Regions from separate parts of the Homo sapiens genome. Here region 1 is linked to region 2. Evidence: promoter capture Hi-C in 16 types of primary human blood cells and fetal thymus (Javierre and others, 2016). All regions are on one chromosome and are shown on one strand. The core of a region is centred on a gene start or on the middle of the fragment in contact, and the rest is flanking DNA. Distances in the headings are between cores, read along the strand shown. Region 1 holds the start of ST3GAL3-AS1 (ST3GAL3 antisense RNA 1). Region 2 holds the start of CCDC24 (coiled-coil domain containing 24).

Region 1 (4,391 bases), core at 867-3,366, 260 kb after region 2:
AAGGGAAAACTGGAATTAATATTTTGACTTGTATTGAAATTGGAGGTATTCAGTGGGAAAAAAATGGTTTTTAATATATAACCAGGCATGGTGGCTCACACCTGTAATCCCCGTACTTTGGGAGGCCAAGGAATAAGGATCACTTGAGCCCAAGAGTTTGAGACCAGCCTGGGCAATATAGTCTTTACAAAAAATTGTCTCGATAGCTGGGCGTGGTAGTGGACACCTGTAATCCCAGCTACTTGGGAGGCTGAGGCAGGAGAATCACTTGAACTGGGGAGGCAGAGGTTGCAGTGAGCCCAGATCATGGCACTGCACTCCAGCCTGGGTGACAGAGTGAGAATCTGTCTCAAAAAAAAAAAAAAAAAAGAAAAATAATTGTCTCTACAAAAAATTTAAAAATTAGCTAGGCCTGGTGGCATGTGCCTGTAGTCCCAGTTACTCAGGAGTCTGCAGTGGGAGGAGCACTTGAGCCTAGGCAGTGAAGGCTGCAGTGAGCTGAGAACATGCAACTGCACTCCAGCCTGGGCGACAAAGAGAGACTCTGTCTCAAAACGAACAATAATACAGAAATATATATGTGTGTGTGTGTATATGTACATATGTGTGTATACATATGTGTATATATGTGTGTTATATATACAAAGACATAAAAATAAATATAGTGAGGATAGTGTGTGTACATTTGTGTGTATACACACATATAATTTTTTTTAAACAGTTTCTGTCATTCAGACCAGAGTGCAGTGGCGTGATCATACCTCACTGCAACCTCGACCTCCTGGGCTCAAGTGATCCTCCCATCTCAGCTTCCCAAGTAGGTAGGACCATAGGCACGTGTCACCACGCCCAGCTACTAAAATTTTTTTAACTTTTTGTGGCAACAGGGTCTTGCTATGTGGCCCAGGTTGGTATCAAACTCCTAGACTCAAATGATCCTCCTGCCTTGGCCTCCCAAAGTGCTGGGATTACAGGCGTGCGCCACTGTGCCCACCCCCCCAACATATAACTCTTTAGCTCTGCCCACAGAAAGACCCTGGCAGTGGTCATATCTCAACAGCATGAAGCATATCTAGTACCTAGATTTTGATGGTGTTTTTGTTTTTGTTTTTGTTTTCTGAGAAGGAGTTTCGCTCTTGTTGCCCAGGCTGGAGTGCAATGGTGCGATTTCAGCTCACGATAACCTCCGTAGATCTTGGTTTTGAAATACTATTCTCCACTAACAAGAAGCAGGGTGCAGCCATAAAAAAAGAATGAATTCAGGTCTTTGCAGCAACATGGTTGCTGCTGGAGGCCATCATCCTAAGCAAATTAACGCAGGAACAGAAAACCAAATACCACATGTTCTTACTTGTAAGTGGCAGCTAAACATTGGGTACTTACGGACACACAGATGGCAATAACAGACACTGGAGACTACTAGATGGGGATGAGGGGTGAAGGCGCAAGGGTTGAAAAATGAACTGTTGGGTACTATGCTGAGTACATGGGTGACAGGATCAATCATACTCCAAATCTCAGCATCACACAATACCCATGTAACAAACCTGAACATGTATCACTGAATTGAAAATAAAAGTTGAAATTATTTTTTTAAAAAAGGTTTAGGACACAGATAGAAAAAGGCACTTAATATTCAAGAGGAGTCATGGGTCTTCCGGGAGAAAAAAAAAATTTTTGAGACACCTAAAACCCAGAACAATGTGAAGTTTGGGGAAGGGATGAGGCTAAAGACAGCATAAATGATTTTTCAAAGTTATGTTTGAAGCAAGAAGAAAAGATGAGGAATAGGTTTAGTTTCATCTCTGATACAGCATTTCTTGTTAAAACTGATGGCTTTCTCTGCAGGCACCTGCCTTCTGAATGCTGGTCCCACTCAGCCATCCACTTTCACTTTTTACCAAGTTAATTTCTACTGATTCTTCAGATCAGTTAATTACTGGTATGCTGCCCCTCCCCAGTCAAGGATCTTTTATTACCCTACCATAGAATCACATTTCTTTCCTTAGTGCACTTCTCTCACTTGAGAAATGCCCCCATTAATGTTATTACTTGATTAATATCGACCTCCCTTTTCTCCTTCCAGGGCTGAAATTGTGTCTGGTTTTGCTCATCATCTTATAGCATATAGCAGGAGTGTAATAAACAATTGCTTAAAAAAAAAAAAGGAAGCAGGTCTCCTTGGAAGAATGGCTGACTCCAAGGCTGGGGCAGAGAAGGCGTAAGGTAAGTCTGGGCCACCTTGTTGTGCCTGAAAATGGGAAAATGCTCAGAGTGAGGACAGGTCAAAAGGAAAAAGGAATCAGCCTGAGGAGCTCCCACTGGTCAGATCTGGAGCAATTCAGCATCAAGATAAAGACTGATAATAACAGATTATAATCCATTAAATAAGAATCTAATAAAGGGGGAGAAAGCTCTCAGAGTGAAACGACAGCTGATGAAAATAGAAGGAATAATGTAATTAGAAAATCACCATTTAGGAACCATTATAGTAATAATTCACCCAAGAAACATCAATGGATGCTAAAATTAATGCATACAAGTTTTACAAGAAATGGGATACAGGGCCAGAAACAATGGCTTACACCTGTAATCCCAGCACTTTGGGAGGCCGAGGCAGGCGGATCATTTGAGGTCAGGAGTTCGAGACCAGCCTGGCCAACATGGGGAAACCCCATATTACTAAAAATACAAAAATTAGCCAGGCATGGTGGCACCCACCTGTAATCTCAGCTACTTGTGTGGCTGAGGCAGAAGAATTGCTTGAACTCGGCAGGCGGAGGCTGCAGTGAGCCAAGATCGTGCCACTGCACTCCAGCCTGAACAAGAAAACAAGACTCTATCTCAAGAAAAGAAAAAGAAATGGGATATAGGCCAGGCACAGTAGCCCATGCCTGTAATACTAGCACTTTGGGAGGCCAAGGTAGGAGGATCACATGAGGCCAAGAGTTCAAGACCAGCCTGGGCAACACAGCAAAATTCCACCTCTAGAAAAAATTTTAAGATTAGCTGGGCATAGTGGCATGTGCCTGTAGTCCCAGCTACTTGGGAGGCTGAGGAGGGAGGATTACTTGAGCCCAGGAGTTAGAGGCTGCAATGAGCTAAGATCATGCCACCGCACTCCAGCCTGAGTGACAGAGCAAGACCCTATCTCTTATAAATAAATAAATAAAAAATAAGATATAAAATAGTTTTAAACTATTTCCTCACTAATTATTAACAGAGGGGAACAGAGTAACTTTGAAGTTGAGAAATCTGACAGACATCACAATAAGCTAGCTGAAGGGGACATATGGGAGTTCTTTGTAATATTTCTACAACTCTTTTGTAAATAAGAAGTTATTTCAAAATGAAAAGTTAAAAAGGGAAAGGAATTTTAAACTAAATGTTCAAATAAACATCTAAATGAGAGTTTATGCAGCCACTTTAAATGGCTGCATAAACTTAAAAAAATTTTTTAATGGTATAGAGAAATGCTTTTGGTATCGTACTAAATGAGAAAAATAAAACGTGAGGCTGGGTGCGATGGCTCACGCCTGTAATCCCAGCACTTTGGGAAGCTAAGGCAGGCACATCACTTGACCCTAAGAGTTCGAGATTAGCCTGGGCAACATAGCGAAACCGTCTCTACAAAAAATACAAAAATTAGCTAGGCACGGTGGTGCGTGCCTGTAGTCCCAGCAACTCAGGAGGCTGAGGTGGGAGGATCACTTAAGACTGGGAAGTGGAGGCTGCGGTGAACTGAGACCATGCCAGTACACTCCAGCCTGGGTGACAGAGTGGGACACTGTCTCAAAAAAATTAATTAATTAATTAAATTTAATAAGAGTATCAGGCACTCAACCATGAGAGACAGAAAAAGATAAATAAAAAATAAAAATGCTAGAAGTAGATTTAAGACAGAGAATTCTGGCTGTGGGACTGCACTTGGCCTCCCTGTATGGTCAGAAAAAAGCATGCAGGCCAGGCGCAGCGGCTCATGCTGTAATCCCAGCACTTTGAGACGCCGAGGTGGGTGGATCACCTGAGGTCAGTTCAAGACCAGTCTGACCAACATGGTAAAACCCGTCTCCACTAAAAATACAAAATTAGCTGGGCGTGATGGTGCATGCCTATAATCCCAGCTACTTGGGAGGCTGAGGCAGGAGAATAGCTTGAACCTGGGAGTCAGAGGTTGGAGTAAGCCGATTGCACCACTGCACTGCAGCCTGAGCAACAAGAGTGAAACTCCATCTCAAAAAAAAGAAAGAAAAGAAAAGAAAAAAGAAAAAAGCATGCAGGTAAAGAGTTGCAGATGCTCCCTCTAGAATGCAGATGGAGCACAGCGATTTGGACACATCCTCTCCACATACATGCATCTTATCCCAGAGAGGGAAGTGGCTCTCTTCTGT
Region 2 (4,220 bases), core at 181-2,680:
GTGACCATCCTCTTCAGCTCTCCCTGCCTCCCTAGCCCAGCCCTCACTCCTGTTCTCTAGGCCAGAGGAACAACCGCCTGCTGGACATGGCTTCCTTTCTTCCCTCTTCCTACAAAGCTCTTCTCTTTCATCTCCCTGAAAACTGCTCCTCATACTACAACACGCAGATCAAACCACTTTCTCCAGGAAGCTTTGCCTGTCCCCAGGCTAGGCAGGTGTTTCCTCTGGGTTTCAGTAGCCCTCATGGGCTGATAATCTCTATCACAAGTGGCGGTGGAAGTGCCCAGCCCGTGACTGGAATCTCCTGCATGGAGCCAGGTGCAACCCACCAGTGGGCTAGGGCCCTCTGCCAAGCAGGGACAGATCCCTCTCTCCTACCATCACCTTACCTGGGCCCACCACCTCTCATCTGGAATATCTCCTGTTCTGGCAAATCACACCTGGGCTCCTCCAAGGCAAAGTGCAGGACCCTGGGGCTATACTGGACCCAAGCTTGGGCCTGGTCCCTGCAGAAGGTGCACAGGAAGGAAGCTGAGAGGCTCCTTTCTGGAAACCACAGAAAAGGCAACCCTGGCTCCTTGTTAGGGGCAGCGCTAGCCCACCTGGTATCTAGGGAAAGGGCCCAGGCCTGAGGCTCCCACCTGCCCTCACAGATGGCTTTGTGGCGGAGACCCTGGAGCAACTGCCGGAGCTCCTGGCGCAAGAGGTCCTTTAGGAGAGGCGGTGGTGCCAGAAGAGAAGAGGGGTCAGAGATGGGGCGGGAGCTGGGGGCTTGAGAGGATCGAGCCTCTTGGAGCAGTGCCCGTAACATCGCCACCTGCAAGGAGAGCTGGGATACCTTGCGACTGGGGAGGGGAGTGTCCGGAATGGTGGGGGCTGGGGGAGTGAGGGAGAGGGCGGAGTCAAAGGGGAGACCAGGATAGGATCTCGGGAGTTACCCGGCAGGGCCAGGGACCCGCAGAGGTGGGAAATCACCCGAGTCGTGGGGCAGGCCAGGGGCGTGGCCCACCTTCCCTCTCCCCACCTCCGCCCGCAGCTCCAGGCTCAGGTCCACCGCCGCCTCCCCCAGAATCCTCTTCACTTCGCGTCGCTCCCGGAGCGGAACGTGCTCCTCCACCAGCTCCCACAGCGAGGGGGAGTGCCGGAGCATGACCCACCGACGCCGCCGTCCCCGGCTCGGACCTACGGGCCGCAGGTCAGAGTGCGGGAGGTACCGCGGGCCCGCCGGCAACGCTCACCAAACCCCGCCCCTCTATGGGCCCCGCCCTCTCCCAAGCCCCACCCGTGCTCTGCCGCTGGTCCCCTCGGCTGGGATTGCCCGTTCCGGAACTGCCAGTCCTTGGCGCTCTCTTCTGCCCGGCTTTTGGCCGACTCGGATGCCGGGGGCCCAGAAACCAGGCAGTGGGAACCAGGGCCCTAGCCCCACCTCTTCCGCGTGGCCATCACCCGGGAAACCACGCCGCGACTCTAGGGCCCCGCCCCCTCCCGTGTTTGGTCCGGCGGGCGGCGCGTGCCGGCTGGGAGTTCAGACTCACCTCGGCGCTCCACCGAGCCCTGACCCAAGCACTTTGGGCTCGGCCCTGGGCACCTTTAGGCCTCAGGGAACGTGTTAAGACCTGAGAAATCTGGGTCCACGGGTTTATTACTTCGTCGCCTCCACTGTCCCGGAAGCAGTGCAAGGACAAACTTCCCCTTAAGGCCAGTGAAAGCCTAGGGAGTGGCAGCGCTTGGAGAACCAGGATGGCCCGGGTCAGGTTTACTTGTTGGGCCAGGTTCCCCAAGTGCCCTTCCACCACAACACACTCAGGGTAACCACGTTCAGGGACCCGACCCCCACCCCCAAACAGACAAGGGAGCTGCTCCATTCACGTTTTTTACTAAAGCACCCACACAAGTTTCTGTGCAATGTACAAACACAAGCCGGCCCTGGGGCTCCTGCCTCCTCTCTCAGACAGGGAGGCGGGAACCAGACTTACTGATCCAAGCCCCACCTGCCTCCCATGCAAAGGCCAACCCCAAGATCCCAGGCAGCGACACAGCATCCCCTCTGGTCCCCTCCTGGGGCTGCTCCTCAGCAGGGGGCGCACCAAAGCTTGCCCCCTACAATGTTGAATGAAAAAGGTTTCCCCTCCCCTGGGAGCAAGGGGGTTCCCAAGAGCTGAGAATTCCCCCTGGAAGAGACACTGCCCCCTAGACATACCTCCCACCCTTCCAGGCCCTAGGGGACTCAAGGGGGGGAAACTGAGGCACAGAGAGGTGGAGTGACCTAGCCCAGGCCACTCTGCGAGGCAGTGCAGGGGCTGGCCCGACCCTGACAGTGACTGGGGCTGGGCTAGGGGGAGGGGGTCGGGAAGGAGGGTTGACTCCAAAGAGGGCCACACTTGAAGAGCCTGCCCAGGCAGGAGGCCCCCCAAAGTGGGTTCTGAAACTTCCAGGTGTAGCTAGGGGGCCTAGTGAAGACCCTTGGAAAACAGAGCCCAGTCTCAGTCCTGGAGGTCCTCCACAGAGCAGCTGCCAGCCAGGCTGTGGTCAGTCCTCTGGCAGGCAATCTTCGGCACCGAGAGCCTCTGTCCATTAGTGTCAGCCCCGAGGGGGCCACGACGGAGGCCGCCCAATGTCCACTGTGATATTGGTGAAGAGTGGTTGCCGAGACACCTCCAAGACCTGGTACCGCACTGACCCAATGCCGTCCCGCTTCATGGTCAGCTTCGTGTTTTGAATCTTGGTAAACCTAGATAGGATGGAAATGGTCCACATCAGGGCTAACAACTGTAAACTAAAAATAAAATCCTACACCCCCCAACCAACTAAATGGACCCCCTTTTGGCCAAGGGGACCCCAGGGAACCTTAAAAACAGGGTTTCCAGCTATGATGGGAAGGGACGTCAAACATGCCATGTTATGCCCACGCCCTTTTGCAGCTTAGACACAACAAATGACCAGCATTAACGTCAAAGCAGAGATCACAAGACTGACAGAATGCATTGTTTGTGTCAATAAGATACCTAATTATAAATAGGATCTAAGGCCATGCCAGGCAAGGGTTAAGTCTTGCACCTCTGCACTTAAAGAAGAGACTATGCTCTAACTGCCGCGAGGATTTTCTTTTTCTGTAGCAGCTAAACAAGTACAGGACTTGAGATAACCAATATTAAAACAATTTGTATAATGTGGTAATATAAATAATAGAAAAAAATTTGCAGCTCACCCACTGCCAGATGCTGACCCCTACGCCCCTGTTCCACAAGCCATAATTATAGCTTTGGTGGGACAAGAGACTGATCTCAGTAACTTTCTCCTGATAAGACCATCGGCCATGGACTGGTTCTAGCCAGCTTACAGAGGCTGCGCACTTGAGTGCTTTTGTCTTTTTGACGTATGGGGCCTAACTGCGATATATTTAAATATTAAGTCTCCACCCCAAGGTGAACATGGATGGTATATAACATGCATGTTTGTTCGATATGCATATGTCAGGACCCCCTCCGTAAATATTCATAGCTCCTCCAGTAACCTGTTGACCAATCCATTCAACTAAAATTCCTATCTCACTCCTCCCTCCCTCAAAGTGCCTGTTAAGGCTTTGGCTGGAGGCTCTGCTTCCTAGCCAGTGGGATGGCCAGCCTGCAGGTTGTAACCCTTTATAAAAGAGAAATAAAGTCTCCTTTTCAAATTTATTGATCTAGTGATTTTTTTTTTTTTTTTTTTGAGACAGAGTACAATGGCACCACCTCGGCTCACTGCACCCTCCACTTCCCAGGTTCAAGCGATTCTCCTGCCTCAGCCTTCTGAGTAGCTGGGATTACAGATGCCTGCCACTGCGCCAGCTGATTTTTGTATTTTTAGTAGAGATGGGGTTTCACCATGTTGGTCAGGCTGGTCTCGAACTCCTAACCTCAGGTGATCCACCCGCCTTGACTACCCAAAGTGCTGGGATTATAGGCATGAGCCACCTCATCCAGCTGATCTAGTGATTTTTAAGTTAACACCACCAAACCCAATATGGGATCTCTGGGGCCTAGGCTTAAGCCAATCTGGCTCCTTCCAGGGTTGATTTGGCAGGAGCCCTTCTGCTCCTGCATTGGCCCTCAAAACAGAGATGTCAGCTGCTCCAGTCAGAAAACAGACGTCTGACACCCTCACAAATCTCTCAGCTCAGACTTTTTTTTTTTTTTTTTTTTTGAGACAGAGTCTTGCTCTGTTGCCTAGGCTGGAATATA

The links. The method cuts DNA at HindIII sites, captures the fragments that hold promoters and counts their contacts. A CHiCAGO score of 5 or more calls a contact.
Region 1: the fragment with the promoter of ST3GAL3-AS1 here is called in contact with the fragment with the promoter of CCDC24 in region 2 in 3 of 17 cell types (endothelial precursors, megakaryocytes and activated CD4 T cells); the score reaches 7.0 in endothelial precursors.

Annotation. Positions count from the first base shown.
Region 1 is chr1:43,725,068-43,729,458 of GRCh38, reverse strand. It overlaps ST3GAL3-AS1 (ST3GAL3 antisense RNA 1), which reads left to right and starts at 2,116. Exons shown (of 4, transcript NR_125986.1): 1 at 2,116-2,226. The region is part of intron 1 of ST3GAL3 (ST3 beta-galactoside alpha-2,3-sialyltransferase 3); the gene reads right to left. The HindIII fragment of the contact is 15,149 bases long and covers 1-4,391 here.
Region 2 is chr1:43,988,809-43,993,028 of GRCh38, reverse strand. CCDC24 (coiled-coil domain containing 24) reads right to left here and starts at 1,430. Exons shown (of 9, transcript NM_152499.4): 1 at 1,283-1,430; 2 at 1,025-1,182; 3 at 642-817; 4 at 390-506. The coding sequence starts at 1,150. It overlaps B4GALT2 (beta-1,4-galactosyltransferase 2), which reads right to left. Exons shown (of 7, transcript NM_003780.5): 7 at 1,861-2,731. The coding sequence ends at 2,581. RefSeq lists silencers at 977-1,026, 1,167-1,276. The HindIII fragment of the contact is 1,600 bases long and covers 495-2,094 here.